Regions from separate parts of the Homo sapiens genome. Here region 2 is linked to region 1. The links are contacts of gene promoters, found by promoter capture Hi-C in human tissues and cell types (Jung and others, 2019). All regions are on one chromosome and are shown on one strand. The core of a region is centred on a gene start or on the middle of the fragment in contact, and the rest is flanking DNA. Distances in the headings are between cores, read along the strand shown.

Region 1 (5,000 bases), core at 2,501-5,000:
GTCTCTACTACAAAAAAAATTATCTGGGCATGGTCGTGGACACCTGTAATCCCAGCTACTCGGGAGGCTGAGGCAGGAGAATCGCTTGAACCCGGGAGGCGGAGGTTGCGGTGAGCCAAGATCGCACCATTGCACTCCAGCCTGGGCAAGAAGAGTGAAACTCAAAAAAGTGAAAAAGAAGGCCAGACACAGTGGCTCACGCCTGTAATCCCAGCACTTTGGGAGGCTGAGGTGGGTGGATCATGAGGTCAGGAGATTGAGACCATCCTGGCTAACACAGTGAAACCCATTCTCTACTAAAAATACAAAAAATTAGCCGGGTGTGGTGGCGGGTGCCTGTAGTCTCAGCTTCTCGGGAGGCTGAGGCAGGACAATGGCGTGAACCCGGAGGGCAGAGCTTGCAGTGAGCTGAGATCGTGCCACTGCACTCAGCCTAGGCGACAGAGCGAGACTCCATCTCAAAAAAAAAAAAAAGTAAAAAAGAAGTTGTGATCATAATTACATGACCTTCATGGCAAACATATTCTACAATTAAAAACAGACACCCCGTGTCACAGAAAGATCCAGACCAAGAAACCCAAATGATGAGGAAGATAAAACTAAGGCACTGGGGAATCCTGGGTTGGGGTCTGATCTTAGATAACTGGGTCAGGCCAAGGCACCTGATGAAAGAAGCTGGGTGATCTCATCTCTTGTTCTGAGTTATTTAGTAATATATTTTTTTAAAACCACTTCAGAGGCCGGGCGTGGTGGCTCATGCCTATAATCTCAGCACTTTGGGAGGCCGAGGCAGGCAGATCACAAGGTCAGGAGTTCAAGACCAGCCTGGCCAATATGGTGAAACCCCGTCTCTACTAAAAATACAAAAACAATTGGCTGGGCGTGGTGGCAGTCTCCTGTAGTCCCAGCTACTCAGGAGGCTAAGGCAGGAGAATCGCTTGAACCCGGGAGGCGGAGGTTGCAGTGAGCCGAGATCGTGTCATTGCACTCCAGCCTGGGTGACAGAGGGAGACTGCCTCAGAAAAAAAGAAAGAAAGAAAGAAAAAACCATTTCAGAGGTAAAGTTTTTTTTTTTTTTTTTTTTTTGGAGACAGAGTCTCACTTTCACCCAGCCTGGAGTGCAGTGACACCACCTTGGCTCACTGCAACCTCTGCCTCTTGGGCTCAGGAGATCTTCCCGCCTCAGCCTCCTGAGTAGCTGGGACCACAGGCATGCACCACTATGCCCAGCTAATTTTTGCATTTTTGGTGGAGTCATGGTTTTGCCATGTTGTCCAGGCTGGTCTTGAACTCCTGAGCTCAAGTGATCTGCCTGCCTCAGTCTCCAAAAGTGCTGGAATTACAGGCATGAGCCTCCACAGCCAACCTAGAGGTGAACATTTTGATACTGGTTTTGGTTTTCCCACCCCTTAAAGGCCTAATATGAAGCTTAGGATTTGAACTAGGATGAGAGAATAGAGATGGGGTAGAACACGGGGTGAGGGAGCATGCAACTGCTCTGTAAATGAGAAAATGTATTCAAAGCACCAGGAATACCTGTGGGACCCAGTGCCTTTTAATGGACCTGGCCATCCCACAGTACACAACCAGAAATATGAACTTGTAACACAGTTCAGCTTCAGAATATATCTGCAGTCTCCAGTATTTGTCCAGACTTCCTCCAGTTTACTGTTCTGACCTGCTGTTCTTTCTTACCTGGCTGTCAGATCCACTGGGACATCTAGGAAAAAATCTGCCACCCCCTTCCCCCAAGAAAAGGTCTTGCCCTCCAGCCTCCTCCCACTATGTACAGACATAGAAAGTAGGGACAAGCCGGGCATGGTGGCTCACGCTTGTAATCCCACCTACCTGGGAGGCTGAGACACAAGATCTCGAGCCTGGGAGGCGGAGGTTGCAATGAGCCCAGATCGCACCACTGCACTCCAGAGCAAGACTCTCAAAGAAAAAAAAGAAAGAAAAAGAAAAAAGGGGCCGGGCGCAGTGGCTCACGCCTGTAATTCCAGCACTTTGGGAGGCCGAGGCGGGCAGATCAAGAGGTCAAGAGATCAAGACCATTCTGGCCAACATGGTGAAACCCCGTCTCTACTAAAAGTACAAAAATTAGCTGGGCGGCCGGGCGCCGGTGGCTCATGCCTGTAATCCCAGCACTTTGGAAGGCCGAGGCGGGTGGATCACGAGGTCAGGAGATCGAGACCATCCTGGCTAACACGGTGAAACGCCGTCTCTACTAAAAATACAAAAAATTCTCCTTGAGTGGTAGCGGGCGCTTGTAGTCCCAGCTACTCCGGAGGCTGAGGCAGGAGAATGGCTTGAGCCCGGGAGGCGGAGCTTGCAGCGAGCCGAGATCGCACCACTGCACTCCAGCCTGGGTGACAGAGCGAGACTCCGTCTCAAAAAAAAAAAAAATTAAATTAAATTAAATTAAAAATTAGCTGGGCGTGGTGGCGCTCGCCTGTAGTCTCAGCTACTCGGGAGGCTGAGGCAGGAGAACTGCTTGAACCTGGGAGGCAGAGGTTGCAGTGAGCCGAGATTGCGCCACTGCACTACAGCCTGGGCAACAGAGCGAGACTCTGTCTCAAAAAAAAATAAAAATAAAAATAAAAAAAAAAAAGATAAAAAGGAACAGCCCCTGGTCCAAAATCCCAGATAAGGTAGAATCATTTTTTTTTTTTTTTTGAAACACCAAGTGCGAGTCAGCCTGGGTTTTTAGACCTAAATCTAAAAATGTATTGAACACCTGTATGATTTCATAAATATTGCCCTGATTGACGAGGCACCCCAAAGAAAGGCAGAACTGGATTCAACATGGAAAGAAAGTATCCCAAGAAGCCAGCCATGAGAGTGACAGTCCCATCTGTGCTACAAGAGTAAGGCTACTGAGGTTGAGATGCAAGAGCTTTGTGCTGGGGGGCCACAAGACAGAGCAGATCCGGAATCCAGGCAACCTTCACTTCCAGCCTGAAGACTCTCCTACGAACTATGATAGTAAATGATGGAGAGGCCCTAGGGTTTGGGATCAAACAATTCTGGTTTGAGCACGCACCCCGCCCCACAATCCTTCCTTCTGCCATTTTACTTAATCTTGCTGAACCTGTTTTCCTCAGCCAAAAAAAAAAAAAGCTCGCATAGTGGCTGAACTAATTATGTGAAATATGTGAAATGTGCTTTGCAGCAGGTGGCTTTTAAACTATTGACCAGAAAACACATACACTGAAAAAAAAAATTTTTTTTACATTATAAGCCAGTATACACATATAAGTATATACAATTGAAACAAGAGTTTCACAAAAACTGTACTTACCTTACTACCTGGGAGTCACTTGGTATATTACTATTGTATTTAATTTTTTATATGCTGATTGCAACTCACTACATTGTTTTCACTCCTAATGGGTAGTTTTTTAAAAACACTTTTCAAAACCATGCAATTATCAGTTATTACGAAGATTAGTAAGATTCTCAGGAATGGTCTGATGGCTAGGAATCTTCATTGCCAGGGAAACAAAGGAAAAAGGTCAAGGTTATTAGGTCAAGCCCTTGGGAGCCCTGTTGCCAAGGGAACAGATCGACCCCCGTCAGGGTTGGTTTACCCACGGTCTGCAGCCCTGTGGAGAAAAGGAGTGGCCCGTGGGCCTGTCACTCACATCAGAGTTGGGAAGCCCGCCTCCAAGCCCGGAAGACCCGCCTCCTCTGTAAGGTTAAAGGAGGAAGAGGCAGAGATTGGAGGTTCAGGCAGTGACGTAACTTGCTGCCTTAGGTGGCCTTCCGCTCTGGCGGCTGTCGCGACGGGGGTTCAGGGAATATTTACTGGGCCTCTCCGCTCCCTCTGCTCTTGGAGGTGCCATGAGGTCAGTTAGCTACGTGCAGCGCGTGGCGCTGGAGTTCAGCGGGAGCCTCTTCCCGCACGCAATCTGCCTCGGAGACGTTGATAACGATACGGTAGGTGCATGCGCACCGCAAGAGACAGCCTGGATCTGTGCAGGGACGGGGCAAGGGAAGTGGAAGAGGCCGCCCGAGCGTGCCACGTGAGCGTGAGCATGCGCGCTGTGGCTAGTTTGGAGCGCTAGAGAGAAAAACTTTATTGATAGCTTCAGTGTTCGTGGTTGGTTTTGTTCCTTGGGAGGTTTTGTTTGTTTTTTGAGACAGGCTCCGTCTGTCACCCAGGCTGGAGTGCAGTGGCTTGATTTCGGCTCACCGCAACCTCTGCCTCCCGGGCTCGAGCGATTCTCCTACCTCAGCCTCCCAAGGGGCTGGGATTACAGGCGCCCGCCACCACGCCCGACTAATTTTTGTGTTTTTAGTAGAGGTGGGGTTTCACCATGTTGGCCCAAAGTGCTGGGACTACAGGCCTGAGCCATCGTGCCCAGCCCTTCTCGTTTTTTAAATAAATTACCACAGGTCAAGCAGGTAAAACAATGCCTGGCACACAGTTTAGTGCTCACTTAAGTGTTAGTGGTGGTGGTGGTGGTGTTAGTATTTTATTCTGTTTTTCTGCAAATCTTTACTGAACTGCTCATTATGCACCAAGGACTCTGCTACATTCTAGGAATTCAAAAATGAACGAGAGAGTTCCAGTCCTCAGATAGCTCATAATCAAGCTGTGTAATAGTCACCGGATAATAAAATGTAATGAGATGCATTGACTAAAGTATGGAGAGGATTCTCCGGTGGAGCATTAAAGGGAATAGTGTCTGATGCTCTTTTTTTTGCAGACTTTATCTTTTCATTTATCATCTATTTCATAGTTCTAATGCAAAGCACTGTATTGCCCCCTTCTACCCTCTGCCCTATCTTCCTACTCGGCCTCCCTGCTTCACAGTTCCTTAACTGTCCTGTACTTATTTCCCACCGCCCCCTAGTGCTGTGATGCAGAAGGTATCTTATGAGGCCTTTTTTGGCTCTACCCTCTCTGGGGAGGAAAGAGTTATTCTCATAAATTTGTGTTATGTTTTCTGGGCTTTCGTGTTTCTTCATGAACTGCCAAGCAGTCCAATTTTATG
Region 2 (5,000 bases), core at 786-3,285, 250 kb after region 1:
AAGTTGTACATTTTCAAGACTAGTTTTGTTAAGTTCAACTCATACAATTTATTACTTTGCTCATAAATCTAGTATTTTTATGTTACTTTGCTCATAAATCTAGTATTTCTATCACTTGTTCTTTGATTAATGCCTGATTAGCTTATAAATTCTCTAAACATTAAATATTACTTATAAGCTTGATTAATTAAATTAGCTTAGGCTGTTTAAACTATATTAATATTAATATTCAAACATCTAACAAGGCAGATATACAAATCTAACAAAATCTTAGACACTAAGCATGTAGCACTAATAATTTAAACACTATTCACAAAACATAGCCTCAATTTATAGACCCAATTAGATTTATTTAAGCATTTAACCACCAAACTTAATCTACCTAAATACTAAACTAATATCACAAGTTTAATGTCACATGCTTTTACACTTTTCCAACACTTTAAAAAGCAGATTTTAAAATTCTATACTTTAAAGTCATTAGTGGTTAATTTTGTTACGTGAATTTTACCTCAACTAAAAGCAGATAAAACCCAAATCATCCCAGTGTTTGCAGTAGTTATTACCTAAAGCTATTAAAGTAGTTACTCCTTAAAGGTATTACAAGAGTATTAATGTACGTTCGTGTCCATCATCTTCTTTATATTTATTTTTAAGCCTCTATCCAAAGAAAGAAAGCAGAATTAGCCTCACAGTTGGGCTGAAATCAGTTGAAGATGTAGGTCTGAGGTACGGTTACAGATCGGGGTATGAGTTCCAGATTTGGAGCTGCCGTGCTGTTCCAGTATGGAGAGATGCTTGGAGCCTGGGCACTGGGTCTGGGAGTGGGGCCTGGATGTGCCTTCTACAGTCATTTCTCCCAGGCTGGCAATTATCAGTGTGGGTGGCTTCCTTTGGTCAAGTTTTTCCTGCCGAATTAACAAGATTCATAGAACTCTCACTGTTTTGTTTTGTTTTGTTTTTTGTTTTTAAATAACTCAGTGCATCTTTCATCCCTGAGTGTCCTTTAAATCTCATTACCTGATATAAATACATAAGTACAAGAAATTCGGGCTGGGAGCGGTGGCTCACGCCTGTAATCCCAGCACTTTGGGAGGCCAAGGCGGGCGGATCACGAGGTCAGGAGATCGAGACCATCCTGGCTAACACGGTGAAACCCCGTCTCTACTAAAAATACAAAAAATTATCCGGGCGTGGTGGCGGGCGCCTGTAGTCCCAGCTACTCGGGAGGCTGAGGCAGGAGAATGGCGTGAACCTGGGAGGCGGAGCTTGCAGTGAGCCGAGATCGCGCCACTGCACTCCAACTTGGGCGACAGAGCCAGACTCTGTCTCAAAAGAAAAAAAAAAAAGTACAAGAAATTCATAGCTTAATTATGAATCAAAACTTGGCTATGGTATGCACAGTGTTTTAAAAGTGGACACTTCAGAACAATTGGCTTTGGCAAAACAAAAACAACCAAAAACCAGTTGACATTTTCAGGAGCTCACATATACTTTTAGTATAACCCATATCCAGTACCATTATGGACTCAAGCTTTTCACTACATTTTTGTTTTCTTTTTGATAATCAGATGATCACAGTTTTGCCTTTTTTTCCTTTCTTTTCTTTTCTTTTTAGAGACAATGTCACTGCAGCCTTGAACACCTGGGCTCAAGGGATCCTTCCACTTCGGCTTCCCAAGTAGCTGGGACTACAGGTACGCGCCACCACACCCAGCTAATTTTTTTATTTTTTGTAGATGTGGGGTCTCGTTATGTTGTCCAGGCTGGTCTTGAATTCCTGGCCTCCAGTGACTCTCCTGCCTCAGCCTCCCAAAGAGTGGGGATCACAGGCATGAGCCACCGTGCCTGGCTGGCTTTGACTTTTTTTCTTTCTTTTTTTTTTTTTTTTTTTGAGACGGAGTCTTGCACTGTCGCCCAGGCTGGAGTGCAGTGGCGCCATCTCGGCTCACTGCAAGCTCTGCCTCCTGGGTTCACGCCATTCTCCTGCCTCAGCCTCCCGAGTAGCTGGGACTACAGGCGCCCGCCACCACACCCGGCTAATTTTTTTGTACTTTTAGTAGAGATGGGGTTTCACCGTGTTAGCCAGGATGGTTTCGATCTCCTGACCTCGTGATCCGCCCGCCTTGGCCTCCCAAAAGTGCTGGGATTACAGGTGTGAGCCACCGCACCCGGCCCAGCTTTGACTTTTTATGCTGCGTCCTTTTTCCTTTTAACACTACCTTAAACATTTTTGTTTTTTAACTTACATACTTCTAGCAAAGTCTGCTCAGGCCAACTCTGATTTTTCTTGCACCAAGGTATGGAATCAGCTATTCCCCAAGGAGCCCTGTTTCTTTGAGTGGCAAATGTTATCAGTTGAATGTTATGTCTGGGCGCTCATGGTGCGAATCACATTATCCGTGTGAGAACTAAAGGCAGGCGTCTGCTTCTAGTGCACTCCAGTGGGAGCTGGGAAATGAGTTCGTGCTGATGTGTCCAATTCAACTCCAACTCTAAGTCCTTTAAAAAAATACACCCTGTTATAAAAGGTTTTCATTTTTTTCTCCCCTTTTAAACTTCCAGCTTATTCTTCTTTTATAAAAACAACTATATATATATATTTTTTTCTACCTCCTTCCCCCCATATGTGTATTCCAATTAAAACATTAATGAACTTTTTAATGTCATAAATGGATGTATACCTACTTAGATCCCAGACACCCTGGCAAGGGCTTCAAATGTGCCATCTTCACTTTTATACTCCTTGTGTGTCTTATCAACCATCATCCTCTGGTCATTTATTGACAGTCACACAATTTCATTTCACCCAACTCTATTGAATTCATGAGACTTTGATTTCAATTTCAAACCATCGGCATGGGTTCCTGCTGTCCAGGAGCAATCACGCCTTCTGACTCTTCCCTGCGTTTGGTACTGGAGATCGGGGATGTCATTTTCTCATTGTTTCTCCCTGTTATCTTCAGGGCTCCTCTCAGACGGTCTCTGCGACCTGCTCTTCAGAGAGCTTCCGGAGGAAATATAATTAACATGCATCTAACAAAGTTAACCTTTTTAACAATTTTTATTCTTTTTTTTTTTTTTGAGACAGTCTTGCTCTGTCACCCAGGCTGGAGTGCAATGGCGCGATCTCGGCTCACCACAACCTTCGCCTCCCAGGTTCAAGCAATTCTCCTGCCTCAGCCTCCCGAATAGCTGGGATTACAGGCTCCTGCCACCATGGCTGGCTAATTTTTTTGTATTTTTAGTAGAGATGGGGTTTCACCATGTTGGCCAGGCTGGTCTCGAAATCCTGACCTCAGGTGATCCACCTGTCTCGGCCTCCCAAAGTGCTGGGATTACAGACGTGAGCCACCACGCTCAGCCACACATGGGTTTTTATAAATAAGCAGATTTCTTTTTCATAGTGCATGCAATGGAGAAAAGCAGATAACTCTATCTCCATCAGCTTGTCCCCAAAGTCCAAGCCCCTCTCCTTGTCACCCAGCACACCCTCATCTCAAGTGCTCAGCCTTTCTTGTCCTGACTCAGCTCCTACCTTCCCCACATCCCACTTCCTCCACCATGCTGCCCTGACGTAACCAGCAAACGTCCTATATCCTCGCACCTTCTGAAGAGGACACACCCTAAGAGGCCACCATGATCCCTGGCTCCTGGTGCTCACACCTCTGTGTAATGCCCTCTCCTTGAGTACATGTGCACCTGTCACTTGCTTCTAATGAACAGAATATGCAGCGGGGTTGGATGTCACACTGTGATGGAGTGATATTATGAGACTGTCTTGCTAACAGACTTGTTCTGGAGACTTTTTGCTGGCTCAGTGAAATGAGCAGCACATTGGAAAGGCTCACGTGGCTAAGAACTGAGGGCAGCTTCCAGCAGACAGCCAGTGAGGAATCAGGAAACGAATTCTCCTGCATCCCGAGTGAGCTGGAAGCAGATTCTTCTAGTGGAGCTTCCAGATGGCACTGTGGCCAACACCCTGATTATAGTCTCCTGCGATCCTGAGCAGACAGCCCAGCTAAGCCATGCTGAGACTGACTCACAGACCCTGTGAGATACTAAGTGTGTGTTGTTTTAAGCCTCTGAATCTGTAGTAATTTGTTCTGCAGCCATAGATAAATAAAATCATACCCCAGCACACACTGTGTCTTCTGTAGCCCTCCTACAGTGGTGGTTGTCATTTTCTCCGTGCCACAGCTTAAAAGCTGGGCAGTAAGGTCATTGTCTTCTTTGCTTTCCATTTCCCTTAGGCTTTTTCTGAGCCTCAACCATACAGCTATGCCACCCTCTTCCCTTCCTGAAAGCCTCTGTCATCCACCGACCTCCAGGTCCCTCCTTCTTCAAAGATCTCTGCATCAGTCTCACCACTTCCTCCTCACCTGTGTGCTGCTGTCATCCTAGGTCAATTCACCCCTGGTTTGGGTGAAATTGTCAACAGTCCAACTGGGCTCTCAGCTTCTTGACTCCCTCTTCCCTAAAGATCACCTCTACTGTCACTAAGCCACCCACTTCCACAGTCACAGTTTGGGCTTTGGCACTATTGGAAGTTGAGACTTTCCACTTCCAAATCACTGATTATTCACTCTCCTCTTCTCTGACTGCTGCTCCTTTCCCCATGGCTGGCCTGTGCGGGTACCCCCACTGCACCTGTTCACCATCATCAGCACCTCTGATCTGTGGCTGTCTCTACTTATCCCCATACCATCAGCTGTCTCTCTCCCTTCCTTCCTCCTTTATCATGCTTAGAGTCCATGTCTCTAACAATGTTGGTCAAGCCCTAATCTGGATCCTTTGTCATTTTTTTATCCTATCTGGCAAAATCCCAACTGTGTATGGACCCAACTACCTATTACTGTGCCTGCTCTCAGGCAGCCTCTGGGAAAGTCACACAACAGGGCATACTGGTTCTACATAAATTCATGATTACTACATCCAGAGGTACCCTCACTACACCTGGGGAACCCCGATAAGTGTCTGATTAACTTACTTTCCCACAG

What was found. Contacts are between HindIII fragments. The study calls those that stand out against the background at their distance.
Region 2: a fragment that was not itself captured here is called in contact with the fragment with the promoter of ITFG2 in region 1 in 1 of the 25 tissues and cell types used here (pancreas).

The regions. Positions count from the first base shown.
Region 1 is chr12:2,808,918-2,813,917 of GRCh38, forward strand. It overlaps ITFG2 (integrin alpha FG-GAP repeat containing 2), which reads left to right and starts at 3,751. Exons shown (of 12, transcript NM_018463.4): 1 at 3,751-3,939. The coding sequence starts at 3,844. ITFG2-AS1 (ITFG2 antisense RNA 1) reads right to left here and starts at 4,007. Exons shown (of 4, transcript NR_146317.1): 1 at 3,645-4,007. RefSeq lists enhancers at 3,298-4,047, 3,778-4,027 and a silencer at 3,578-3,667. The HindIII fragment of the contact is 16,489 bases long and covers 1-5,000 here.
Region 2 is chr12:3,057,359-3,062,358 of GRCh38, forward strand. No RefSeq gene overlaps it. Among named protein-coding and RNA genes, the nearest start is that of TSPAN9, 18 kb to the right of the region's middle. The HindIII fragment of the contact is 4,152 bases long and covers 1-4,111 here.